4 separate regions of the Homo sapiens genome follow, and regions 2, 3 and 4 are each linked to region 1. Evidence: promoter capture Hi-C in 16 types of primary human blood cells and fetal thymus (Javierre and others, 2016). All regions are on one chromosome and are shown on one strand. The core of a region is centred on a gene start or on the middle of the fragment in contact, and the rest is flanking DNA. Distances in the headings are between cores, read along the strand shown. Region 1 holds the start of IBTK (inhibitor of Bruton tyrosine kinase). Region 2 overlaps UBE3D (ubiquitin protein ligase E3D). Region 3 overlaps UBE3D (ubiquitin protein ligase E3D). Region 4 overlaps UBE3D (ubiquitin protein ligase E3D).

The links. Contacts are between HindIII fragments. The CHiCAGO score rates a contact against its expected background, and 5 or more counts as called.
Region 2: a contact is called between a fragment that was not itself captured here and the fragment with the promoter of IBTK in region 1, in 2 of 17 cell types (total CD8 T cells and activated CD4 T cells). The highest score is 5.4, in total CD8 T cells.
Region 3: a contact is called between a fragment that was not itself captured here and the fragment with the promoter of IBTK in region 1, in 1 of 17 cell types (non-activated CD4 T cells). The highest score is 5.1, in non-activated CD4 T cells.
Region 4: a contact is called between a fragment that was not itself captured here and the fragment with the promoter of IBTK in region 1, in 2 of 17 cell types (erythroblasts and endothelial precursors). The highest score is 5.2, in erythroblasts.

Annotation. Positions count from the first base shown.
Region 1 is chr6:82,242,043-82,248,993 of GRCh38, forward strand. IBTK (inhibitor of Bruton tyrosine kinase) reads right to left here and starts at 5,702. Exons shown (of 29, transcript NM_015525.4): 1 at 5,520-5,702. RefSeq lists a silencer at 5,335-5,504. The HindIII fragment of the contact is 2,262 bases long and covers 4,597-6,858 here.
Region 2 is chr6:82,966,797-82,973,747 of GRCh38, forward strand. All of the region lies in intron 8 of UBE3D (ubiquitin protein ligase E3D), which reads right to left. Among named protein-coding and RNA genes, the nearest start is that of UBE3D, 96 kb to the right of the region's middle. The HindIII fragment of the contact is 3,645 bases long and covers 1,423-5,067 here.
Region 3 is chr6:82,937,875-82,944,825 of GRCh38, forward strand. All of the region lies in intron 9 of UBE3D (ubiquitin protein ligase E3D), which reads right to left. Among named protein-coding and RNA genes, the nearest start is that of UBE3D, 120 kb to the right of the region's middle. The HindIII fragment of the contact is 5,127 bases long and covers 987-6,113 here.
Region 4 is chr6:82,907,300-82,914,250 of GRCh38, forward strand. The region is part of intron 9 of UBE3D (ubiquitin protein ligase E3D); the gene reads right to left. Among named protein-coding and RNA genes, the nearest start is that of UBE3D, 160 kb to the right of the region's middle. RefSeq lists a silencer at 3,618-3,818. The HindIII fragment of the contact is 468 bases long and covers 4,084-4,551 here.

The DNA of each region.
Region 1 (6,951 bases), core at 4,452-6,951:
GGTACAAAAGTAGTTGCAGATTTTGCTAGTAAAAGTAATGGCAATGGCCAGGCGCAGTGGCTCATGCCTGTAATCCCAGCACTTTGGGAGGCCGAGGCGGGCAGATCACCTGAGGTTGGGAGTTTGAGACCAGCCTGACCAACCTGGAGAAACCCTATCTCTATTAAAAATACAAAATTAGCCAGGCGTGGTGGCACATGCCTGTAATCTCAGCTACTCGAGAGGCTGAGGCAGGAGAATCGCTTGAACCCAGGAGGCAGAGTTTGTGGTGAACCAAGATCACACCATTGCACTCCAGCCTGGGCAACAAGAGCAAAACTCTGTATCAAAAAAAAAAAAAAATTAATGGCAATTACTTTTAAGAATCCAATCCCAAACCTATACCCCCTAAAACTATATCACCACCACCAACACAACAACCAACCCTCTAAAAGTAATGGCGATTATTTTTAATGGCAAAACCTACAATTACTTTTGTACCAACTTAATAGCTCCAGATCTGTTCTACTAATACATTCTGTAATTTGATATAGTCCTCATAAAAATCATCTCCCCCTTAAAACACTGATTTGAACAACAGCAACAAAAAGAACAAGATAAAACAAATAAAAATGTGTTTGGGGGCCGAGCACGGTGGCTCACGTCTGTAATCCCAGCACTTTGGGAGGCCGGGGTGGGCGGACCATGAGGTCAAAAGATCAAGACAATCCTGGCCAAGATGGTGAAACCCCATCTCTACTAAAAATACAAAAATTAGCTGGCCACACTCCTGTAATCCCAGCTACTTGGGAGGCTGAGGCAGGAGAAATGCTTGAACCCAGGAGGTGGAGGCTGCAGTGAGCCGAGATCCCGCCACCGCACTCCAGTCTGGTGACAAAGCAAGACTCTGTCTCAAAAACAAAACAAAACAAAACAAAAGACGGGCACGGTGGCTCATGCCTGTAAACCCAGCACTTTGGGAGGCCAAGGCAGGCGAATCACGAGGTCAGGAGATCAAGACCATCCTGGCTAACACGGTGAAACCTCGTCTCTACTAAAAATACAAAAAATTAGCCGGGTGTGGTGGCGGGCGCCTGTAGTCCCAGCTACTTGGGAGGCTGAGGCAGGAGAATGGCGTGAACCTGGGAGGCGGAGCTTGCAGTGAGCCGAGATCGTGCCACTGCACTCCAGCCTGGGCGACAGAGAGACTCTGTCTCAAAAAAAAAAAAAAAAAGTGTTTGGTAGCAAAGAGAAAAAAAGGTACCAATCGTCAAGTACTTTAAAAGGTTAAAAATGGAAAGCATGACACAGTAGTTCCCCATTATCCATTTGCTTTCTATGGTTTCTATTACCCACAATCAACCATAGTCCAAAAATATTAAATGAAAATTTTGGAAATAAACAATTTATGTTTTAAATTGCATACTATTCTGAGCAGTATGATGAAATCTCATAGTGTCCCACTCCAAACCACTCCACCTCACCTGAGACATGAATCATACATTTGTCCAGCATTGCCATACTGTACATGCTACCAACTCGATAGTCACTGAGTAGCCCTCTTGGTTAGCAAATTGTAAAAACATAGCATATATAGGGTTCAGTACTCTCTGCAGTTTCAGGCATCCACTGGGGGTTTTAGAATGTGTCCTTGGATAAGTAGGGACTATTTATTGTATGTGGCAAAATAGTTCATCCAGTTAATTTCATTCTTTTAAAGCTCTAAAATCCCACCATGTTTGTATTTTCATTGTATGCATAATACCTGGAAGGAACTACTTACTGGTGAATCACTCAAACCTTACATTAAAGAATTAAGATACAACAGAAAAGAATTCCCTAATTCATTAGTATATATAATGTAAACATTTAAAGGGGGGAAAAAAGAATGTTAAAAAGTCATTCCATACTATCATATAGAGAAAGCGGCACCTACAGAATACTATGAACATAAACATGGAAGCGATTAAGAGCTAGGATTTCTTAGAGTTTTACATACATAGATTCAAATATAGCAATGTCAGCTGTTATCAGTTATATAACTAAAAAATGACATAATCTCTCCAAGTCGTTTCTTCATCTGAAAATAGAAACAATCCATGGACTTCACATGGTTACTATAATGATAAATGAAACTACCTAACATGGTACCTGGCACTAAATATGCATTCGACAAATAATAGTTTTCATTACTATTGTTTCTTCAGTCATAAAAAGGTAATACATTTTAACTCCAAAATTCATGTTTGAGCTTCATTATCACTTGTTACCACTTCTCCAAAGAAATCATTATTGCTAAAGTTACTAATGACTTCCAAATTACCAAACACTTTTAGATATTTTCAATTCTTACTTGCCTTCCCTGCTTTTATGTCTTTAAAACCTCATTCCCTTAAGGAGTCTAAAAGAGATCCAGGAAGGGCAGGAAGTCGCAGAAACATTTAAGCATGGGCTCTCTCTCTTAACCACTTCTTCCTAGGGCATTATCGCTTCCCCTGTCCTTCAAACTGGGCTTCTCTGAAATAATCCTCAGTCCTCTACTTCATATTGTTCCTGATAGTTTCAATCCTTTTCATGCTTTTAACTCTACCGTACACATGATTATAAATCCCCAAATCTGTCTCTTGCTCACATATTTGCCCTAAACTCCAGGCCCATATTTCCAATGCCTATTGTACTTCTTATCTATGCATTCAAAAACTGCTTAAAGAAGGGGAAGAAAGCAAAGGAAATAAGCATTTAAAGACCTAATACATACGGAATGCTTTACATCAGACCAGTCAAGTAAACCACCTAAATCATACCACCAAGAAAAGAGGGAGTCAGACTTCAAATACAGATCTGTTTAATGATGAGGTCCGTGCTATTTCTGCTACGTTACACTGTCTTCTTCAGCGCATCCATAGTAGGTCACAAGGCATTGGGAATACAAAAATAATTAGGACCTAAATATTTTAGATAAAATAAAATACAGGTTCATGGATAATACTCAGGTGGATGCATAGCTAGTTTAACATATGTACTAACTGAACAAAACTTATGATCTATTACACAGTTCCTATTATCAAAGGGTCACAGTTTGGTAGAAGAGAGTAATTTTATTTAGGCAAGTAACTAAAACATATCATAATTATAAACCTATGGTCAAGATAAAACAAGTGACACATAGGAACGGGGAGTGCAGAAGAGGGGTCCAGGTAAGACTTTCTACAGGAGATAAACTATGTATAAACTAAGACTTAAAAGATGAGTACTGGCCAGGCACAGTGGCTCATGCCTGTAGTCCCAACACTTTGTTAGGCTGAGGCAGGCAAATCACTTGAGCCCAGGACTTTGAAATCAGCCTGGGCAACATGGTGAAAGCCATCGCTACAAAAAAAAATACAAAAATTAGGCGTAGTGGCACATCCCTGTAGTCCCAACTACTCTGGAGGCTGAGGTGGGAGGATCACTTAAAACTGGTCAGTCAAGGCTGCAGAGAGCCAAGATCATGCAACTGCACTCCAGCCTGAGCGACTGAGCGAGACTCCTTCTAAAAAAAAAAAGAGTACCATATGTGTTGGCCTGATAAATTCTGGGTGAGAGCACATTTGAAGCAGAAGGGATAGTAAATATAAAAGAACTAGAATCATCTTGGTCCATTCCAAAATTTCTAAATAATTCAGAAGACAGAAAGAAGTGAGGCCTAACATACACACAAGGATAGACAGGATTTTGAACAGCCTTATGTGCCTTTTCTTAGAGATTTAAAAAAAAAAGGGCAGGCAATCCAAAGACATACTTAGGATCTTGAATTGACAAGATGTGGTGGTAATTCCCAGGTTTCTGGCTTGGAGAACAGATAGGGAAACTAGAAAGAAGAGTAAGGGGTCAATACTTTGGAAGTGAGTAAAGCAAAACAAAATTAAACAACGGAAAAAACACACAAAAATTATAGGTGAAATTTTGTTTTATACATTATACACAGTGCTCTACATAAATATAATCCTTATTATTGCCCCTGTAAATATGATCACTTTCATTTTCTGATGAGGAGATTCATGTGAAAGTTTAAAAAGCCTACCTAAAATAATACCGACAGAAAAGTGCTCTTGATCCCACCTATTCTATGCTACCAAACTGCTCTCCCAAAAGGCAGTTAGAAAAATTTCAATGCAAGTAGTATAGTGTAGTAGAAAAAAGTACCATGGAATTCAATTCAAAATAATTGAATTCAAAAGCAGTTTGGTAGGGCAGCTGGAGACTCAAGCGATTCTGCCTCAGCCTCCCGAGTAGCTGGGATTACAGGCACACATCACCATGCCTGGCTGATTTTTTTGTATTTTTGGTAGAGACGGGGTTTCACCAAGTTGGCCTCGAACTCCTGACCTCAAGTGATCCGCCCACCTTGGCCTCCCAGACTGCTGGGATTACAGGCATCTTTTTTTTTTTTTTTTTTTTTGAGATGGTGCCACACTCAGTCGCCCAGGATGGAGTGCAGCGGCGCGATCTCGGCTCACTGCAACCTCCACCTCCCGGGTTCAAGCAATTCTCAGCCTCCCCAGTAGCTGGGATTACAGGCGTGAGCCACCGCGCCCGGCCTAAAAAATTTCTTGAAGTAAACTCTGGTTTGACTAAAGCTTCTGCAAATATTTGCAAATGTAATTATTTTTAGAAACCAGTTTTGTCCTCATCTACCTTGCCTCAATTTCTAAAACAAATAAAAGTTAAGGAATTCAAAATACAAAAAGAGAAATGATCAAGAGGGGGCTGGCAAGCCTGTGAATTTACACCACTTTATGGGCACTGAAACACTACTACTCATAAAAGTCATATCCTTTCAGTATTTCTGATAAATTTCAAATGGCCTACTTCGAGGCATAAGTTAAAAGGTGCTACATGAATCTCTGGCTAACACAGTCAAGTTTTATGAACTACGTTGGAAAACAGGAGTCAAGGACGGCCTATGTTACCTAATTCGCAGCTGAACTAAAACTCTTTGAGCCAGACAGCTCTGCCTGTTACAAAAACAAAGGGCCTGTCTTCTCTGTCTCTCTCAACCCTCCACCCTCCAAAAAGAATCAGTTCCTTTTTACATAGCAATCAATGTCCACTTATCAGATTTCACGACCTGCTTCCCCAGAGTCAGTATCCCCAGGGTGGACTCAAACTTGTGACTCCAGGAAGGGGATAAGGAACATGAGCGCCCACAGGAATGGCTTCAAATCCAAGACTCGAAGGAAAGTGACACTACATAACTATCACAACTAGGAATGCAATGTCGCTGGAGGGCGTGTCCAGCAGGACGGGAGCGTAGCGCATCGCCGGGACAGGCCATTCATTAGCTGAGGGGGGCGGTAGGGACCCTGGCCACTCGGCCCTCTCCGCGCCGCCTCGCGCGAAGCCCGGCAGCCTCGGGGCCACAGAGTCCCCTCCCCACGGTCCCCCCGCGCCGCCGTCCGCAGCCACCCGCACCCTCCAGAAGGCGAATACTCTCCCCCTGCCCCCGGGCTGAAGGGAAGCCGCACCGCACGGTCGGGCAGCGCCAAGCCCTCCCTCACCAGTCGCTAGATGAAACTGCGCCGGTGGATTCCGCAGGGTCCACATAGAGCCACAAAGGGACTCATCCTCAGTGAAGGCAATAAGAGAAACCGAACGGCGCCAGAGGGGCCAGTCCCCAGACCCGGGTCAGTTCGGCAGGCGGCTGCAATACAGCCGCTACTACAGGAATCGGGAACGGGGATGTAGAGGAAGGGCCCGAGCGGGCGGTTCCCAGTAATAAGGCGGGCGCTGGTTGGCTGGGGCTCCTGTATGTCTCTTGATGATTGGCTGGTGCCTGCCCAGAAGGTTTCGCGTGGCAGCACCTCTGCCATGGCCTTTTCCCTGGCGCCCCAAAGGAACTTGACCTCGCCGGCCTTGGGGCCGCTGACTCAGGCCAGGGGCGGGGAAAAGAAAAAGGCCGCAGCGGGGAACTCTAGGCCAACAACGGTGATGGGAGTGTCCCTTTCAGGCCAGCCATCTCGTAGTTAGAAACGTCTCTCTAGGTAGCTGGAGACTCGCGGGGGAGGCTAAACCCGAGTGGAGAAGGAGACCTGGCAGGATGCCTTGGACACCCGGTCGCTACGCAGCAGAAGCCAAGTGCATAGGCGTCCTGCACAGAAGAGTTTCCTCCCATGGCCTTAGCAGTGGGGTTACTGCAAAGCCAAAGGTGTAGTCTCCGTAAACCCAGCCTCACCCCTCTCTGGATCTCCATACACCCGGATTATCTGGCAGTCACTCCCTTGGTCAGAAGGCGTCACTGCCCTCTTAGATCACCACCGTAGGACTAGCTGCCGACCCGGGTCACGCCACTCACTGCCTGACACCAGGCTTACACTAGGCTTTTTCCACTTGAACTCTGAATCTAAAGGCCATTTAGAAAGTGGTCAAGTGAAAAATGCTAGGAGGGACAGTAGCCAATAATCAATACTAGGTTACTGAATGGGAAACACACTGCTGCTGAATGCCTAATACGGTAAGCACTCAGTAAATGATTGTTCAAGGAGGTGTAGTGTGACTCAAAACAAACGACACTAAGAATCATGAGTTGGCTGTACAGCTCTGCCACGTTGAGTTTTACAAGCCACTGAGTCGACCTCATCTAATCTCTAAAAGAAAGGAGTTGCGCATGTCTTAATGCCCACTGAGCTCTGCTTGCTCTCTTTTGAAGCCTTTTTTGTGGGAGGGTAGGTTACTAGCCCAAAGCCACACAGCTGCTTAGCGAAAGAGAAAGGGAGACTAGGACCCAGCCCTCCTACTGCCCTTCCCAGCACATAATTGTTTCTTTGCTCTTTATTCTTAATGTCCTTCTACAAAACAAAAACCAGTTTGTAATGTCAAAATTGAGTGGTTTTGAAAATAAGCTTAAGTTGGCCGGGCGCGGTGGCTCACGCCTGTAATCCCAGCAATGTGGGAGGCCGAGGCGGGCGGATCACGAGGTCAGGAGATCGAGAC
Region 2 (6,951 bases), core at 1,995-4,494, 720 kb after region 1:
TCTTTCTTATCAAGACAGATGGATGCTGAATGCACTGATTTAATTATGTAACAGTGAGCTAGGAGAACTAGTAAATATTCCCAACAGAAACTCAAACATATTATGGTTGCTATTGTAATTAATTCTAGAAAATTTTTACTTGCAAACAAAATGTGAGACAAACTGGTCTCTATACTATGTAGTTCACCACCTTAAAAATATTTTTTTCATTTTTTTCATTTTATTAATCTTTTATTTCCATTCCCTGCCTCAAATGGGAAAATCAAGCCCCACATGATTTACTCTGTCGAGCTGGCATCTGCTCTCCCTTGTCCTTCACTTTTTCCATTTTAAATATTTAAACCATTTCTTCCCACTTTTTGTTCTGAGATAATTGTAGAGTCACATGCATTTGTAAGAAATACAGAGATGCTGTCTATCCTTCACCCTGCTTCCCCTAATGGTAACATTCTGGATAACTACATCAACATTGATATAATTCACCAACCTTTTTTAAACCTCATGTTTAAACATGCATTCATTTGTGTGTGTCTATGTGTATTTACTTCTAGGCAATTATTTCACATGTGCAGACTCGTGTGACCACATTAACACTGAATAGCCAACATACAGAACAGTTCCATTACGAGCATCTCTTAAGATAACTCTTTAGAGGCACAACCACCTCCCTTCCCCATCGCCTCCACTCCCTACCCCCTGGCAACCACTAATCTGTTCTTCATCTCTATAATTTTGTTATTTCAAGAATGTTACATAAGTAGAATCATATAATATGTAGTCTTTTTTTATAACTCACCATAATTCCCTCGGGATTCATCCAAGTAATTGTATCAACAGTTCATATTTTTTTTCTTTTTTAAAAAGAGATGGGGTCCTGCTCTGTCACCTAGGCTGGAGTGCAGTGGCGTGATCATAGCTCACTGCAGTTTTGAATTCCTGGGCTCAAGTGATCCTCCCACCTTAACCTCCTGAGAAGCTGATTCTAGAGGTGTGCACTGTTACACCAGGCTAAGTTTAAAAAAAAAAAATTTAAGAGATGGATCACTATATTATCAAGGCTAGTTTCAAACTCCTGGCCTCAAGCAATCCTCCCACCTCAGTCTCCAGAATAGGTGCAATTACAGGCTACTCAACTCCATACCTAGCTTTCATTCCTTTTTATAACTGAGTAAATTTCCATGGAATATAATCACAGTTGTTTATCCATTCATCTACTGAAGGACATTTGGGCTGATTCAGTTTGGGGCTATTATAAATAATAGCTACGAGCTGCTATGAACATCTGTGTACAGGTTTTAGGGTGAACATTAAGTTTTCATTTCTCCAGGATAAAAGGCCCCAAAATGCAATTGCTGGGTCATATGATAAGCACATGCTTAAAAAGTTCTTAATTTTAATGTAATCAAGTTTTTGTATTTTTAAAGCTTACCACTTTTTGTGTCCTGTTTAAGAAATCTTTGCCAAATCTCATATTGTACTGCATTCTCCCCCTTTTAACCTCCCTCACCTCTCCCTATTTCCCCTGCCCCCCACCCCATCACTGATCTCTCACTATCCACTGACCACTCTCTGCCCTCAAATCAACTGCTCTGGGACTAATAATTCACTCTCTTTAATGGCTATATAACACATCAAGGTGTGTATGTCTAAAATACTATACCTTGGTTATCTTTTCTCCCAGTTTTCTTTTCCTGCTATGAACAATATTACAATAATGTCCTTGCTTACATTTCTTTACATTCTGGTACTTTGATTTGTTTGGAATAGAATCTCAAGAGTGGTAATATCAGATTGAGGTGTATATGCATTTTTTAATTTTAATAGATATTTCTGGAAAGTCTGTGCCAATTCACATTTTCACAACCAGTCATCAGAGTACTCTTTGCCCCATACTCCTGCCAACAGTGAACTAACAGTTGGGGTTTTTAAAGTTTGATGGAAGTAAAATTATTCTGTGCTATATATCTGGTTTATATTTGCTTAATTCTAGTGAACTAGAGTTTCTTTTCATATATTTGTTGGCTGTTTGGATTTGCTTTCTGTGAATTACATTTTAAAAATTTTATCTTATTTTCAAATTTTGTTGAGTCATTTGCAGAGGTGCTTCATTGCACAACTTCAGGAATGCCATCAGTAGCCTCAATTATTAGGCCTTTTCTCATCAGTTTGTAAGCAATACTCAAAATCAAATTATAAATGGCAAAACATACAATTATCGCAATTGAAATCAGGAAGTAGACAGGAGTGGTCACTGTCATTGATTAACGCTTTCTTGTAAAGGAGATGTTAAAATTAATCCCCTTTTCCCCTGGTGATATGACTGTTTTACTTAGAAAGCCTGAGAGACTGTGTTAACAACAAGAGTTAAGAAAATGTGCCCAAGATATTTATGTAAAAAGCAAGAATCTCTCTATTACACAGGGCAGGGGTGGGGGTGGGGGTGGGGTGGGGTGGAAGTGAAGCCTAAAAATAGTAAGGAAAAACCTTCCTCTTTTACAATAAGAACATCACGATAAAAATACTTAGAAAGAGGCCAGGTGCAGTGGCTCACGACTCTAATCCCACTTTGAGAGGCCGAGGTGGGTGGATTGCTTCAGCTCAGGAGTTTGAAACCAACCTGGGCAACATAGTGAAATCCCGTCTTTACTAAAAATACAAAAAAGTAGCCTGGCATGGTGGCACATGCCTGTGGGCTCAGCTACTTGGGAGGCTGAGGTAGGAGGATCCCTTGAACCCAGGTGGTGGAGGTTGCAGTGAGTCAAGATCATCCCACTGCACTCCAGACCGAGTGACAGAGTGAGACCCTCTCTAAAAACAAAACAAAACAAACTTAGAAAATTTAACAAAAAAGACAAAGAGCTACAGAAATTAGACTACATAACCTTACTCAAGAACATAAAACAAGACATGAAAAAATGGAAAGATATACTTAATATCATAAAAGTGTCAATGGTCCCAAAATTTATATTTTAATTTAATGTAATTTCAGTTAGAATCCCAAAAGGGTTGGTTTTCATCAGAACTGGATAAAATAATATTACTTGCAAGAATAAATGTTTGAAAATGACCATGTTAAAAAGAATTCAGTAGGCATATTTGCTTTCCAGATACCAAAACATATAATAAAACTAATGTAATCAAGTCAAAATGGTGTTAATATAGAAGTAGACAAATAGATCCATGGAACAAAACACAAAATACAAAAATAGACCCTAATGAAATGTAACGTATTTCTATGGTGTTTACTCATAGTCATATAATAGAACATGATATACTATTATATATATAATTATATATAATTATATATAATAGAACATGATATAATATACTAGAAATGATATACTATTACAATTTAAGGACAGAAAAATTGATTATTTATTAAGGGTGATAGTTCAAAAAACCACTCATCTGGAAGAAAATAAATTTAAAAACCTATCATATCATTTTCAAAAATAAATTCAAGATGTATCACAGGCATATATGTAAAAATAAAATAAATCTTGCCAAAAACTCTAAAAAACTACCACAAACACAAATCTATAAGGGTTTTATAATTTTAAAAAATTGTATTGCTAATAAAAAAAATTTTAAATCACAGGCAGAGGGCAGAAAACCTTATTGACAGAAAGAACCTCTATGAATTTACAAAAAGAGGACAAAGGACAGAAATTCATTTTTAAAAAGGTTTTTAAGTAGTGATTTTTAAACCATTTTGAAGGTCATAGGCCTCAATGACAATATAGTTAAAACTAGGGACTCTGGGCCGGGCGCTGTGGCTCACGCCTGTAATCCCAGCACTTTGGGAGGTCGAGGCGGGCAGATCACGAGGTCAGGAGATCGAGACCATCCTGGCTAACACAGTGAAACCCCATCTCTACTAAAAATACAAAAAATTAGCCGGGCGTGGTGGCAGGCATCTGTAGTCCCAGCTACTCGGGAGGCTGAGGCAGGAGAATCGCTTGAACCCGGGAGGCAGAGATTGCAGTGAGTCAAGGTCACGCCACTGCACTCCAGCCTGGGTGACAGAGCAAGACTCTGTCTCAAAACAAAAAACAAAAACAAAAACAAAAAACAAAAAACAAAAACTAGGGACTCTCTCTCCTCAACAACATTCATTTTACAAAGAGGATTTTGCATATAATTTTGGGTGTTTCTCAGATCACCCTCCTCTCCAAGTCCATTCATTACCATCTTTTATATAAATAGAATCATACAACATGTGGCCTTTTTGGTCTGGCTTCTTTCACTTAGCATAATGTTTTCAAGATTTATGGACCCCTGAGTAAGGATCGCTGCTTTTCAGTCAAAATTCTCTTTTTCTAATTTACTATTTTCTGACAAAATAATTAAAACAGTTCCATTTTGAACTAACTTCTAATTATATATCATAATATTTGTTAGCACATTAATAAATATAACCATTTAGGAAAAGTTTTCAGAAATAAGGTCTTTTGGCTCACATTTTTACTATGTTCTATTACATTACCAGAGGAAATCAGTTAAAAACTTAGGAGGCTGAGAAACGCATTTCTAATCCTCTAATCACCCTCCTAAGTAAGTGGCAGTCAAAGTATGTGGGTTGAGACATAATAAATTAGGTCCACTCTAATAACATTCTCATAAATAAATCTGACACTTGGCATTACTAGATTCCCTGTCCCATAGGGGCCAAACTCAGCTGACACTTTCATTAATCAGCATTACCCACTCTGTCCCAAAGTGGAAGTCCTTTGCCAGTGTGAATGCAAAGTGTTTAGGATGCATAAGGTACAAAGCAAGGATTAAAGATGTTTTCTTTTTTTTAAAATATTGAGACAGGGTGTTGCTATGTTGCCCAGGCTGATCTGGAATTCCTAGCCTCAAGTGATCCTCCTGTCTTGGCCTCCCAAAGTGCTGGGATTACAGGCATGAGCTACCACACCTGGCCTCTATTTTTTTTAAATAGCTCTTGATGTCTTTTTTAAGTTTATTTTTGCCAGAAAGAATTTTTAAAAAACATGTCAGGAAATATATTTAATTTATTAATATTGATATTACTGGTATTGATAAAATGGCATTATTTATAGAAGCTTTATTTGGAGTTGCATTAGAGGTATTCAAAATGTTTGACGCTTTCTTCTTTGATGATGTCCTAGACCTGGTATAACAAATAGGTTCTCTTCATTTTTCACTTCAAATTGGTTGGCAGTGATTGTGTTGAAATAGATGGTGAGACCAGAGATAGATGGTGAAACCACATCTGGTTTCAGCAGAAAAGAGAGAGATGATCTAGCAGAGCTCTCTCAGCCCATGCCTTCAGAACGGGGTGGGTTCTGGTTGTTTGCATCATATGCAACCACAGAGTTCCATTCCTACCCTCACAGAGTACCATCATCTTCAGTATCCTTGGCTTCCCTTTATACCTCTTCCCAAGTCTATCCTCAGATGCCCTTCCTTTGGAAACCCAGATACCGTTCTTTCACAAGAGGGCACTTGGCAATGGTATAACTCAATTCACATGAATAAGGCCTGACCAATCTTGGTATCTTAGCTACTAGTGACTGAATTTCATAACCCTAAGTCATAAGTGGATTTCTCTGACCCATTAGAAGACAAATCCTAATGACTAAGAATTCTGTCCCTCCCTCCATGGGAAGAGATGAGAATCCAAATACCAAGATCTCATGCTACCTGTGCAAGAGCCCTTGATTTTGGAAAAAGCCCTCAAGTTTAAGCCTTTAGACCTTTTGTGAAGTCACATGTCAATGTAACTCTAGTAGAGTTGATTTTAAGTCTGCTCTTAAAAATAATCATATAAAAATATAAGCTATATGTTGGAAATACCCTGGTTTTAGTTCAGATACTTAAAAATGGTACATAATTCTACAAATTTAAATGTACATAAAAATATAGCTTGGTGTTCTTTGTTGTACCATTTATGTTGCAGACTGCTATAATTTCAAGAAGTTATATAAATAAAATGATGCACTTTAGGACATTTTCTATTTTTGAAATCTGAACATGAATCATTCACATAACCAAAAATTATATTTTTAAAAAGAAATACATGTCTAGTCTATCCTTCTAAAGTAACTGTTCTCTTAAATGAGCTATGATAGAAATAAAATCATTACCAGTTAACTTTGAAAACACATATGTTTAACAGTATTGTTTTAAAGAATATGCTATAAAATTATTTTAAAAAGCTATATAAATGAGAAGCTACTAATGTTCTGAAATCTGTTGTTTCTACCACAGGTAAAAGCTTATTCAGGAATCCCCAAAGTTGTACGACTGAATAAAAGACAACACCACATTATAGTACAAAAGACAAAAAAACAAGACAAAACTGGCCACACCCATTTTATGCAAAGTAGGAGAATCAATTTCCCAAGTTATTTGGCATAGAGAAAAATTCATTTCTAGCAACTTGGATTTGATTCTCCTATAAGAATTTGATTTGTATGCACCTAGATAAAATAAATATAACCAACAAAATCTATCAGGTCAGTCCTGACAATCTCCTAAATTTTATATCTGCTATTAACTCATTAACTGACTTGCAGAGAGGTCTGATTATTGAAACTGGAAAATATACTCCAGTTTTATTCACAGACTTTATGCACTAAAAGGCATCTCCTCCCCGAAGAGCACCTTGAGTTGAAGAGAAAAATGTTTGCTAAATTTTTCCGAGGTAGAACAAAATATTTTTAAATGGCAGCTTTAAAACCTAAGAAGAATTTCATTGAAACTTCCGAAGGCCACTATTTTTTATTAAAAATGATAGAATTCTTAGCTTCTTTCCTTGTCACCACACCCTTAAAATGAGCTATCTCTGATAGCTGGATTTCATTAATCCACATTCTGTTCATTTTGAAGAGGCTAGCCTCAGTATTTGGTTCCAAGGTATAAAAAAGACACTTAAAATGTGAGTAATCATCCCTGTACAGCAGAGGTCCCCAACCCCTGGAC
Region 3 (6,951 bases), core at 2,300-4,799, 690 kb after region 1:
AGAGCCAAGGGCCAGATGGCACCCTAACCCCATCATTCCTGTCCCTTCCTGGCAGCTGTTAGGGAGGTCTTACGGCATCAACTCCATCCTCTTGGAGAGCACACGGGCGTGTGCGCGCGCACACACACACACAACAACCCTATGTAATCTGACTTTATCTATATTTTTCCTCAGTTAAACACTTCTAGGATGTTCACAAGAAATAAGGTTCTATAACATTTAAGGAATACAGTTATATTATGCAGACTGGGTGAATAAATCAGGAACAGCTGGGAACAGACAAAAATGACTCTGTGCCTCTACTTTAAACGAACTTTAAAAACACTTACATATGTAATTTAACCCAACCCTTCATCCCATAGATAACGAAACTGGGATCCATAGAGGGTTATCTGCCTAGAAGAGGGTCAGCAGTCCAGACTAGATCTTGAGTGTCTGACATCAGCGTGAGCGACTGTCCTACCACATCAGACGTGCCGTGAGAGAGAGGACTACAGAGGCTGCACATCCCTGAGAAAAGCAAGAAGCCCGGATATCAGGAGATGTGGGGATGCCGGGTGTTCACACCAATGGCAGAAAGAGGAGTGACAGAGGTAACACCAGGATTCTACAAGACATCTGAGGGTAAAGAGAGAAGGAAAATAAAAAAACACAAACTTGATGACAACTATTCAGTTTAGTGCAATACAGACTGTGTTAAGTGCAGGTTAATAAGGAGCAGTGAAGAAAAGAGGAAAATAATTAAGCTATTTGGACCTGTGACTAGATGTTGTTATAATTAAAATTCTTTCATTTCTCACTTTAGTTGGTGTATATTCTCTTATCACGTGTTTCTTACAGTTTTCGTTCTTGAAATTCCCTATCATACACACTTTTGGATGCTTGTTAATGCAGATTTTTGGGCTCTACTTCAGGGCTATTGAATCGGAATCTCTCTGGCTAGGACTCCGATTTCTTAGATCACTAAGAAATCTAAATTTTAAACAAGCTTCCCATGTATACTGACATTTAAGAACTAGCACCATAGTCTGGTGTGGTGGCATGCACCTATAATCCCAGCTACATGGGAGGCTGAGGCAAGAGGATTGCTTGAACTCAGCAGTTCGAGGCTGCAGTGAGCTACGATCGTGCTACTACACTCCACACTCCAGCCAAGGTGACCGAGTGAGACTGGACACCCTGTCTATTAAAAAAAAAAAAAAGAACGAGTACCATTCATAATAATGTCATCACAGAATTAGACAAACCCTATCTGTCTTCCAGTTCTCCTTATCCCCATTTCTGTGTTACAGATACTGAGGTAAGAGAAGGTGAGTGCTCTCAAATCACAAAGGCTGCCCAGAGCCTGCCAGGCCTTGCCCCTAGGCCTTCTCTCCCCACCATGAAGGACAGATGGACTGAATTGGGCTAGGTAGCCATTGGTTCAATTTTAAGATTCTATATTTTTAGTTTGCTAAAAGTAAAAATATGTATTGTTTTGCTAATGAAAAACCCATACCACATCGTCTATCGTGGGTACATACAGTCATGAGCTGCATAATGATGTCTGATCAACAAGGGACCACATGTACAACAGTAGTCTCATAAGATTATAATGGAGCTGCCCTATATGAGTACACCACTTTTTATCTTTTGTACCATATTTTTACTGTACCTTTTCTATGTTTAGATATATTTTGATACACAAATACTTACCATTGTATTACAATTGCCTACAGTATTCAGTACAGTGCCATATAGGCTTGCAGCCTAGGAGCAATGGGCCATACCACATAGCCTAGGTGTGTAGTAGACTGTCCCAGCCCATCTAGGTTTGTGTCTGTCCCAGCCCATCCAGGTTTGTGTAAGTGCACTCTATGACATTCTCTGTGATGCCTCATGACATGTTTCTCAGAATGTATCTCTATCATTAAGTGATACATGACGGTATTTCCTTTAGAATCAGGAAAAAATTAACTTACTAAACACAACCAAACAAAACAAGAAACATAATTATAGACTTAGTAAGCTATACATCATCCCTGCTTCTCTCAATAAAGCAAAGGGCAGAGCATCCTAAGTCCCATCAGACCTCCCCTACGAAGTGCTACAGAAAGCACAGAAACTGTCCAGCTTTGCCCACAACCTCAACTCCTTGGTAGGGACAGAAATGTCTGAGGGGCAGGTCACGTGGCAGGTATCTGGGTAGGGAATCGGCCTTTTGAAAGATGTGATGTGGCAGCAACGTGGATCTGACTAAATTTCTGGTTAACCTCCAGGCTGTCTGCCTGGCCCCATCCTCCACATTCTCTCTAGAGTATGGCAAAAAGGAGAGTCCAAAATGAAAGGAGGCAGAGGATGAGACAATTCAGATTAGAGAACTGTATTCAACTAAGAATACCTGCTTATTTCCCCAGACCACAGAACACCCTGCAGGGCAAAAAGGAATGAAGATGACAACATCTTTCACATCCAAATTGCTGAGGCAATTCTCAGAAATTGTTTTGAGGAGAGAGATGGAAAATAGGACAGTAATCACTACCTTTGAGAACGAAGTTCCTAAATACAATGACCAGCACTCAAGTCCTGATTATCTTTGCACACTGAGGACAAAGGCATTAGCAGGAAAGGAAAAATAGTGGACACATCCAGGGACCCGAAGGTGCCAACACCACTCCCATCTCAGTTTCCTGGGATGCACACGTGGATTACCACAAGTGCTGAGTGAAAATTCTAGGGAGTGCCTGCCCATCTTGGTTCAGGTCTGTCTGCTTCATGACTACATCTGCAGAAGCCCTTTGACATGTGGAATCACTCACACCCTTCTTCCCTACCCACTCTCAGTTAATAACAGGACCCTGAGACCCTCATATATAATGTCCCCAAGGCCCATTGATAGTCTCTTGGGAAAAGTATATGTCTTCATGCCAGGAGATGAAACAGAGGAAAGAGCAGAGTATTGTCAGTACTGTGCCCCAGCCAGCATCTTCAATGAGCCCAATTTTATATTAATATATATATTTGTGTGTGCGTGTATAAGCAGATATTAAAAATAGGACTAAGAATTACTCTAAAATGGCCGTGCACGGTGCTTCACACCTGTAATCGCAGCAATTTGGGAGGCCGAGGCAGGTGGATCACTTGAGGTCAGGAGTTCAAGACGAGCCTGGCCAATACGGTGAAACCCCATCTCTATTAAAAACACAAAAATTAGCCGGGTGTGGCGTCTGTAATCTCAGCTACTTAGGAGGCTGAGGCAGGAGAATTGCTTGAACCCAAGAGGCGGAGGTTGCAATGAGCTGAGATCGTGCCACTGGACTCTATCCTGGGTGACAGAGCAAGACTATCTCCAAAAAAATAAAAAACAATTACTTTAAAATGTCAATACTGGTTACTCCCAGTGATCTTAATTTTCTTTATATTTTTATGAATTTTCCAATTTTTTTTATGAAAAAAGGTTTTATTTTATATATATAATTAGGGGAAAACATGACTTAAAAAAAAATAATGGCTATAATTCACCCAGAGATGAAAGTGGAATATAACAGATGAGGTCATTTATGTAGTACAATGTTTGAAAGTATATAGAAAAAAAAGAGTGCAGAGATAAAAAGTTCACTTTCTCTTGTCTATAGCCCATTGTTGCTACTTACCTGTAAAATTCCCAGGCCTCTGTCTATCTATTTCTAGGAGCCCCTATAAGTTATTATATTATTATTTTTTAAGTTCTTCAGTAATACAGTTTGGCTCTGTGTCCCCACCCAAATCTCCCTTTGAATTGTAATCCCCAGAATCCCCATGCATCAGGGGCAGGACTAGGTGGAGGTAATCGGATCATGGGGGCAGCTTCCCTCATGCTGCTCTCGTGATAGTGAGTGAGTTCTCATGAGATCTGATAGTTTTATAAGCATCTGGCATTTCCCCTGTTGGCACTCATTCTCTCTCCTCCTGCCCTGTGAAGAGGTACCTTCTGCCATGATTGTAAGTTTCCTGAGGCATCCCAAGCCATACAGAACTGTGAGTTAATTAAATCTCTTTATAAACTGCCCAGTCTCAGGGAGTTCTTTATAGCAGCAAGAAAGGACTAATATAGTAAACTGGTACCAGTAGAGTGGGGTGCTGCTATAAATATACCCAAAACGTGGAAGTGACTTTGGAACTGGGAAACGGGCAGAGGTTGGAACAGTTTGGAGGGCTCAGAGGAAGACAGGAAGATGTGAGAAAGTTTGGAACTTCCTAGAGATTATTGAATGGTTTTGACCAACATGCTGATAGTGATATGAAGAATGAAGTCCAGGCTGAGGTGGTCTCAGATGGAGATAAGAAACTTGTTGGGAACTGGAATAGAAAGGTCACTCTTGCTATGTTTTAGCAAAGAGACTGGAGGCATTTTGCCCCTGTCCTAGAGATCTGTGGAACTTTGAGAGATATGTTCTGAAATTGGAACTTATATTTAAAGGGGAAGCAGAGCATAAAAGATTGGAAAATTTGCAGCCTGACAATGTGATGGAAAACAAAAACCCATATTCTGGGAAAAAATGCAAGCTGGCTGCAGAAATTTGCATAAGATACAAGGAGCAGAATGTTAATCACCAAGACAATGGGAAAAATGTCTCCAGGGCATGTCAGAGACCTTCAGGGCAGCCCCTCCCATCACAGGCCCAGAGTGCTAGGAGGAAAAAATGGTTTTGTGGGCCAGGCCCAGGCCTGCATCCCAGCCACTGCCTATTCAGCTCCAGCCATGGCTAAAAGGGGCCAACGTACAGCTCAGGTCATTGTTTCAAAGGGTGCAAGCCCCAAGCCCTGGTGGCTTACATGTGGTATTGGCCCTGTGAGTGCACAGTTGTCAAGAATTGAAGTTTGGGAAGCTCCACCTAGATTTCAGAGGATGTATGGAAATGCCTGGATGTCCAGGCAGAGGTTGCCGCAGGCACAGAGCCCTTACGGAGAACCTCTGCTAGGGCAGTGAGGAGCAGAAATGTGGGGTCTGAGCCCCCACACAGAGTACCCACTGGGGCACTGCCTAGTGGAGCTGTGAGAAGAGGGCCACCATCAACCAGACCACAGAATGGTAGCTCCACCGACAGCTTGCACTGTGCACCTGCACAGACACTCAACACCAGCCCATGAAAGCAGCCAGGAGGGGGGCTGTACCCTGCAAAGCCACAGGGGCAGAGCTGCCCAAAGCATCGGAGCTCACCTCTTGCCTCAGCATGACCTGAATGTGAAACATGGAGTCAAAGGAGATCAGTTTTGAACTTTAAGATTTAATGACTGCCCTATTGGATTTCAGACTTACATGGGGCCTGTAGCCCCTTTGTTTTGGCCAATTTCTCCCCTGTGGAATGGGTGTATTTACCTAATGCCTGTAACCCCACTGTATCTAGGAAGTAACTGACTTGCTTTTTTTTAGAATACCCTATCCACTGTCCCCCTGACAGGGAAAGCAAATTTGACAACTATCTACACACAAAAAAGCACCTTCTTAAGAACCGAAACTCAGCCAGGCACGGTGGCTCATGCCCGTAATCCTAGCACTTTTGAAGCTGATGCGGGAGAATTGCTTGGGCCCAGGAATTCAAGACCACGCTGGGCAACATGGTGAAACCCCGTGTCCACTAAAAGTACAAAAATTAGCTGGGCATGGTGGCATGTACCCGTAGTCCCAGCTACTTGGGAGGCTGAGTTGGGAGGACTGCTTGGGCCCAGAAGGTGGAGGTTGCAGTGAGCTGAGATCACACCACTACACTACAACCTGGATGACAGAGCGAGACCCTGTCTCAAAACAAAAAACAAACAACAACTACAAAAAAAGAACTAAAAATCAGGTAAGGACTCATGGTATCTGATTTTAACTTCATATCACTGAAAAGAATAGGAAACAGTCTTGAATTGTCAATGCCACCCCTCTCCCATTCCCCCACAGCACCTGCACAGCTCAGAGAAATCTGTGCTCTTGAAGGGGGAGAGTGCAGTGAATATGAGACTTCACATTAAACTCAGTGCTTCCTGGTTACAGTGGAAAGCAAAACCAAGTGGAACTCAGCCGATGCCCACACAAGCAGGGAGCATGCAGATCAACCCTAGCCAGAAGGGAATCGCCCATCCCAGTGGTGGGAACTTGAGTTCAGTCAAGCTTTGTTACTGTGGGCTGAAGTGCTCTGGGGCCATAAAAAAACTTGAAACAACCTAGACCACAGAGACTGCAAGTCTTAATGCTGAGCTGGGCTTGGAGCAAGTGGACTTGGGGGTGATGCAACCTACTGAGACACTAGCTGGGGCAGCTAAGGGAGTGCTTGTGCCACCCCTCCCCCAACTCTAGGCAACACAACTCCAAAAGAGACCCCTTCCTTTCACTTGAAGAGAGGAGAGGGAAGAGTAAAGAGGATTTTTATTTTGAATCTTGAATACTAGCTCGGCCACAGTATGACAGAGAACTGATCAGGGTTGTGAGGCCCCATTCCAGGCCCTAGCTCCTGGATGACATTTGTAGACATATCCTGGACCAGAAGGGAATCTGTTGCCATAAAGGGAAGGACCCAGTCCAGGCAAAGCCTATCATCTGATGACTAAAGAGCCCCTGGGCCCTGAATAACCAGTAGTGATACCCAGGTAGTGAGCTGTGGGCCTTGGGTGAGATTCTGAGAGTTGCTGACTTCAGCTGAGACACAACACATTTGAAGCTGTGATGGCTATGGTGAGAAACTCCTTTTGCTTGAGGAAAGCAAAGGGAAAAGTAAAGGAGACTTTGTCTTGCACTTTAGGTACTAGCTTGGTCACAGTTGGGTAGAGCACAAAGCAGGTTCTTTGGTCCCTGAGTCCAGGACTTGGTTTTTAGACAGCATTTCTCGATCTGTCCTGAGCCAAAGGGGTGCCCACTGCCCTGAAGGGTGAGTCCCAGTCTGGCAGAATTCACCACAAGTTGACTGAAGTGCCCTTGGGCCTCATGTGAACATCAGCGGTAGCTTGGCA
Region 4 (6,951 bases), core at 3,068-5,567, 660 kb after region 1:
TCTGGCTAATTAGGAGGAGTATTTCTAACCTCTAAGGAAAATACTCTCTAAACTCACAGGATGTTTGGAAATGGAAACAAACAAACAAAATCCAGAAGGCATGTTTCACAGTGGTTTTTATAATTTAGATCAAATTTATTCAGATGGCCAAAGGTTTCTCAGTCCCTGAGTTTCCTGTAAAACTCAAACCAATTACGGGTAGTGGTGGGGGATGTAGGAGGGGAACAGGACTCCTACAATCAATGATAAAAAGCCTTAAAACAGATCCTTCACAAGAGAAGATAAAGCACATGAAAAGGTGCTCATATCATTGGTTGTTAGGGAAATGCAAATGAAAATCATAATGAGATACCCAGAATAGTTAAATAAAAGATTGGCATCACCAAATGATGTCACTGATGAAGACACGGAACAGCCGGAGCTCTCAGACATGGTTGCTGGGAGTGTAAAATGGCACATGCACTTTGCAAAAGTGTTTAGCAGTTTATTAGAAGTTAAATATACATCTATCCTACAACCCAGCAATTCCATTCCTAGATATGTACCTGAGAGAGATGAAAACAGGTCCACAAAAAGATTTTACCAGAATATTTACAGCAGCCTTATTCAAAACAGCCCCCAATAGGAAACAACCTAAGTGCCCATTAACAGGAGAACTGATGAACAAATTGTGGCATATTTATTCAGTGAAATACTTCTCTGCAACAAAAAAGAATGAACTACTGATAAATGCAATAATAGGGATAAATTGCAAAAACATTATGTTAAAGTGGGAGGTCGAGACAAAAAAGAGTACATACAGTATGATTCAATTTATACAAAGTGCAAATATAGACAAAATGAATCTAAGATGATAGAAAATAGAGACAATGGTTTTCAAAGAGGAACGATTAACTGCAAGACACCTGAAGGGAACTTTATGGGAAATGGATATGATCTAAATCTTCTTTTAGGATAATGGTTACATGGGTGTGTATTAGTGGTTCTCAACCAGGGGACATTTGGCAATGCGTGGAGACATTTTTGGTTGTCATAACTAGGGGAATGCTACTGGCATCTGGTAGGCAGAGGCCCGGGATGAACAGGACAGCTCTCTACAATAAAAAAAAATCCATCTTAAAATGTCAATAGTTGGGTACAATGTACACTATTTGGGTGACACTAATGGCTGGACTTCACCACTATACAATTCATCCTTGTAACCAAAAACCACTTGTACCTCTAGAGCTACTGAAATACGAAAATAAGAAATAAAACAAAAAGAAACTCAGCAACACCTTTCCTAACTCCAAAATGTGGTTGAAGATTGGGGGAAAAAATTTCATATTTCAATCCTATGAGTTCCACTGTTCAATAAATGCATTACATATACAAACTGTGCTTAATACATGTTTATTAAAAATATTAGGAGAAAGATGGATGGGGTATAGGACTTCTTGTCAACAGCTCTCCTTTCAAATACACTCTTCCTTTCTTCCCTTCCTCCACTGCATAACTTACTCACGTACTATGCTACTCGAAACTTCCTGAAGGCCTCAGGGAGATATTTATACAGCCAGGGCACAGAGACAGTCCTGGGGTCATAAAGCAGTGTGGGACTGGAGCAGGGCCTGGCTCAGGCTGCAGGTGAGTCAGTCCAGGTTTCCCAGGAAGCCTCAGCATTTCACTTGCCCCTCTCTGTAGTGCCACACTTTTCCTGGCCCCATGGCTCTGTGCTCAATTAATGCAGTCTGAAGTAGTCACAGGGAGTGTGGCAAGTGTGCAGGTGGGTGAGGACTTCTGAAGGGGTTACCCCTGTCCCACAGGTCACAGTAACAAACTGGCAACGGACTTCTGTGGTTCTCTCTGAATCTAAGAGAACATTCCTGATAACAAGTTAAAAGTTGTTCTTCAGTGGAAAGAAAAATGGATCCAAAAATATGCTGTGAACTAGTAGTTTAGGGTACCGGTACTATTAACTCTGATGTTTGCAGAAAACAAGTAGCTTACAACTCAGGTTACCAAAGTTGAATTGCATAAACATTTTCTTCCTTGGGGGAATCTGAACTGTATAACATTAGCCTTTCTGCCAGTGATTTTCAGGCCTTCCCTAACACTTACAATGGTACCCAGAATATATTCTCTGCTAAGCCTGGAGGCAGCCCTGTACAGCTAAGCCATTCAAGAGATATTATTCAGAAATGCCTCCAGAGGAGATGCTGCAGAGCTCCTTCAATATTCTGGCCCTCTCCACAGCTAAGAATTTTTTTCCTTAGGTTTAAATTAGCTGACTTTTAACATAAGCATTCACATCTGCTTTCTTTCCCTTTGTGCAAGGGTAGCTGCTTCAAATTTTGGGTGGGGCAAATTAGAACTCTTAGGTTGGAAAAGCTGCTCACAAAAACTTCATCACTTACTCACTCTTAGAAGCTTCAAGTTTTGTACTTGTCTGTCACCTTCATGTTGATTCTCTGGGATTCGAGGTCTATGAGCAATGAAGCCCATTAGCTAAATTCTTTTGGAAACCTGACAACATCGCACTGTGCAGTTGTTCCTGTGGGCACATCTGCTGCACAGTAGGGGAATGAAATTGGATGCGATCCTTCCCCTTCCTCCCAACTTCACTGTTTAAAATGGCACTGAGTTTTAGAAGTGATCTTGGGGGACTAGAAAGGCACCCTTGCACTTTGGTCACTACCCTCAACGTGTTCAAATGCTCCAGCTTTATGTTCATCATCGATTAAACACTTGAATTTGTGATTCCCGAAAGCTACTTCTTAGACTGGGATTCAAGAAAAGAGGAAAAGCACTGGTGATTTTAAATTCCCACACTTTGCCTGTGACACAGTCCACACACACAGACACTGAGTAGGGAACCAAATGCCTCTTCCTGACGACACTTTGTGCTTTAGATTTCCCAATAAAACCCTTGCGTATCCACTCCTGCCTGCAAAGGGACCATTCATGTGGAAGCACAACATCTTATCTAAATCTCTGTATATCTCTCTATGAGGTCTTGTACACAGAAGGTTTTCAGTAAATATTTGTTGCCTGGAATGAATGATTGGACAAATTAATTATATAACTAGAATCTAGGTTTATTACTTTTCTGCATCAACATCAGAGAAAATAACCTTTTATAGGATGGAGCTGAAAAGAGACTGGGAGATTTGTTATTTTCAACCCCAGTACTCTATTACTTCCACATTACTTGGCAAAACATCCTGCCCAGAAAATGATCTGCTCTTTAAAACTTTGCTCAGAGCTCTGCTCTGTACTGCCTCACAAGCCTCAAAGTTGAGACCAAGGTGCCACAGCCCTCACTGCTCTCCTGGTTCTGCAGAGACGGCTGTCACAGAGCAGCATTCCAGAGGTTCCATGGTGATTTCCTATTTTTTTTTCTTTCTTTCACAAAAGCTGTTGGGGTAACATTGCAAGAGTCCAAGAATTAGAATTAGGTGATACATTTTCAAGTTGAAAACATAAAAATAAACTCAATTGGCAACTGATTTAAAATGTAGGAATTAGGCAGGTGGTGACACTGACAATGTGAAGATTGTTCTGAGTGTTATTCTGAACACTGCAGTATAGTTGGGATCTTAACAATCACTGTGGCTCACCAATTTTTCAAATGTTTACTTTCCATGCATATTTTGTGTCATCCTAGTCTGTTTAACTCAAAAGATCTAATCCCACCAGATCACCTATAATTAGAGAGTGATGATGCATTCTTAGAAGACAAATATAGACACCACAGAGGTGATGCATCAGCAGTCTAAAAATAATTAATTCTTATCCTCACAAGGCCACCTACACCAAGACACTTGGGAACAGTTCACTATAGCCATAATGTCATAGAAGGATGGAAAAATCATTTTTCTTATCTGTAGAAGTAGGTCACAGCAAGAACATTTTGGCAAAAAAAAAAAAAAAAAAAAAAAAAAACTCAGGGGGGACATGAATAGATTTTGTGACAGTCTTTTCATTTATTACCTTAATGCAAGACTTGATCATCAGTTCATTGTGTACTCTCCAATCATCTTCCTACATGGTAAAGGACCAGAATTGAAGTTTTGAAATGCAGTATTTGGGGACACAGCAAAAAGCTTCATTACCAATATACTGCTTCTAAATGGAATAACAAGGGCCCAAACATTTGAGACAATAACTGGTTTTTGTTGTTTTTCTAATTACATGAAAATAAAACTTATAAATTAGAATACTTCTCACAAGTCTGAGCTAGGCAATATATAGTCACAGAGGCTAAAGGTTAGCTGAAAGTTTCCCATAGCAACCTTTTAAACTCAGCACATGGGCCACATGTGAGACAGATTTTATTTCTTTTGAGACTTTCATTTAAACACATTGATCAGCTCTTTCAACAATGATCTGAGTTTTGTGCATTTCACTAGTGCTGCTGCCTTCTAAATAATGAATAGTTTTCCCCAATGAAGGTGAGGGGGTAGAAAAAGGGGATGTACAGGATTAGGACGGGGGATCACAACATTTACACTGATAATTTTATAATCTCAGGAGAAGTCATGGGAGGAGCTGATTATCTACCCTGCTTAAAGCTTTCTCCTGTCATCGGTCAGAAAGGCTGGACACTCTTCCTGTGCTAGCAGCTGCTCCAATTAATGCTGTACCTCCTTAGAATCACACATTTGGATTCACAGGCTGACTGACACTGGACTTTCTTCCTGGGGAACAGAAAACATGTCTGCAGGAAACCAGGCTTCTCTCCTAACTATAAGCTCTTATTGACCTACATTTTTAAGAAATTTGTTCTGAAGTTCTGATAAGGATTAGAACCCATTCTTTGGCTCCAACAGAGCTACTCATTTGGGCACACAGTCCTTCCTCCCTTCCCTCAAATGTACTAAAAAGATTTCTTCCATGCTTTTTTTTTTCTTGCTAAGAGCAATTCTATTTCATTTTTCACAGAATATGATTTTCTATGTTCACTTTATCATTTTTACTCCTCTTAGTGTCATTAATGACCTTCGAGCTTAGTCAGTTATTCTATGCTTTTTTTCTTCTGCATTCATCCTTTTTTCCATTTTAGCACACTGAAGGCCAATTTTACAATGAGTAAACTGTAAAACTGTGTCCTAGTTCTCCTAGAGACAATCTTCTTTCTTTGAGCTATTAAACTGGAATTTTTGGATTTTTTTTTTTAATCAAGGCTTTGTCACAGAACAGGTACAATCATTACAATGTAAAATTAGTCTTTTTTCCAATGAAAGTGGTGTAATACTCTACTTTCGACTTATAACTACACAGAAGGATTTGGGAAGCGGAATATAAAAGACCTATCAAGAGCTTCAAAGAGTTATGTGGAAAGTTATATGATGTTTTGTTCCTGAAATATAGAAATAAAGTCATACCAGGGTATAATGCTAAAATTTTGCTTTCTGTATTTGCTATTGCAAAATTAGTTCATTTAAACCTTGTAGAATAAACTGCCTTTCACTCACTCATACATCCACGTAGTCATCCTCTGGATGTATTCATTGGGTTCCTCCAATGTGTCAGGCAATAAAAAGCAAATCAAAATAAAACAACAAACAACCTTTTTTTTAAATCCTGAGAATCTTGTCAGTGGTTATTCTCTACTCTAGGCATGCCACTCTCCTCCAAAATGATCTCATACATGGTATTCACCTGCAAAAGATGAGGAGCCACAGTAACAATAAACCTACCTGCAGGCAGATTCACTAAGGTGGACAGTTTTACAGGACTGTTTCACTAGTTATTAACTGAAAGCCCAGTGGCTATGCAATCCAGTGGGGAAAAAGAGGCTTTAGAATCAAATAACCTGTGCTTAGATTCTCGCTCTGTGGTTTGAGGCCAATATGGCTCTGACTTAGCTTCTCTAAGCCTCAGTTTCCTCATGTGAAAAACAGAAATAGCTGCACAAGTACCAAAGGGTGGTTATAATCACTAAGTGAATTAAAATCCACAAAGTTTCTATCACTGTACTGTTGCAAGGTTGACGTCCAATAAATTATAATTTTAGCAGCATCATTATTATGGCTGGGTTTTAGAGCCTGGGAGAAATGACTGCTCCAGGCAAAGAATTCTTTTTTCTCAGAAAAGGAATGACAGGGTTAATTTCAAGTAGGCTGAGGATAACTAGGTTGTAAAAGAAGTGTAGCACATGTCCTAACCCAACCCCTCTTCTCTCTTGAGTTGTGCTCCTACTTCATTTACCCATGACCCACTTATTCATTATCTCCATAGATGCCCCTTTACATTAGCATCCCATTCACTGGGCCTTACCTGTCACCATTATCTTTTCCTCTATCATCCAAACTTATTTAGATACAGTTTAACTCAGGGCATTAGTGTATTACTTTAAATGAGTCAAGGGAAGGGAAGGTGATAAATCAGTTTACTTTTTGCTTGGGGATGGAGGTGATGGAAATGTGAGGAAGAGGACTGGATAGCTGGATCAAAACAAAATAAAACAAAACAAAACAAACCCAGAACTTAATGATTCAAACTTAACAGCAGAAAGTGTCTTTTTACATATAAGTATGTCAATATTGACCTGCTTATCAACTACAACATTCACATCTAGCCTGAGTGAAAGGAAAGGCCATTCCCTCATAAGCTAAAAATGAATAAATGGATGCAAACAGCATATGGTTGGTCATAGAGAGGACTACTGACTTCTCACTTTGGCTCACAGAATTACAGAAGACTACAGCTGAACACAGAACACTAGAGTTTAAGAGACAGAGACACTGAGGCCCAAAAATGTCTTACATGACTTGCTGAAGGCAATCCAGCTACTAGCTGCAGAGCTAAAACCAGAACCTAGATTTCTTTCAGTTTCCTCCAAAACTAATTTAAAATGATGAAGGTATAGTGTGTTTAGGTGGTTAGACTTATATTTTGTTTTTGTTTATTTTTATTTTGTTTAGTGTGAAAAAGATGCAGTCTGACTTTTAGAAAGGGCTTAGGTCT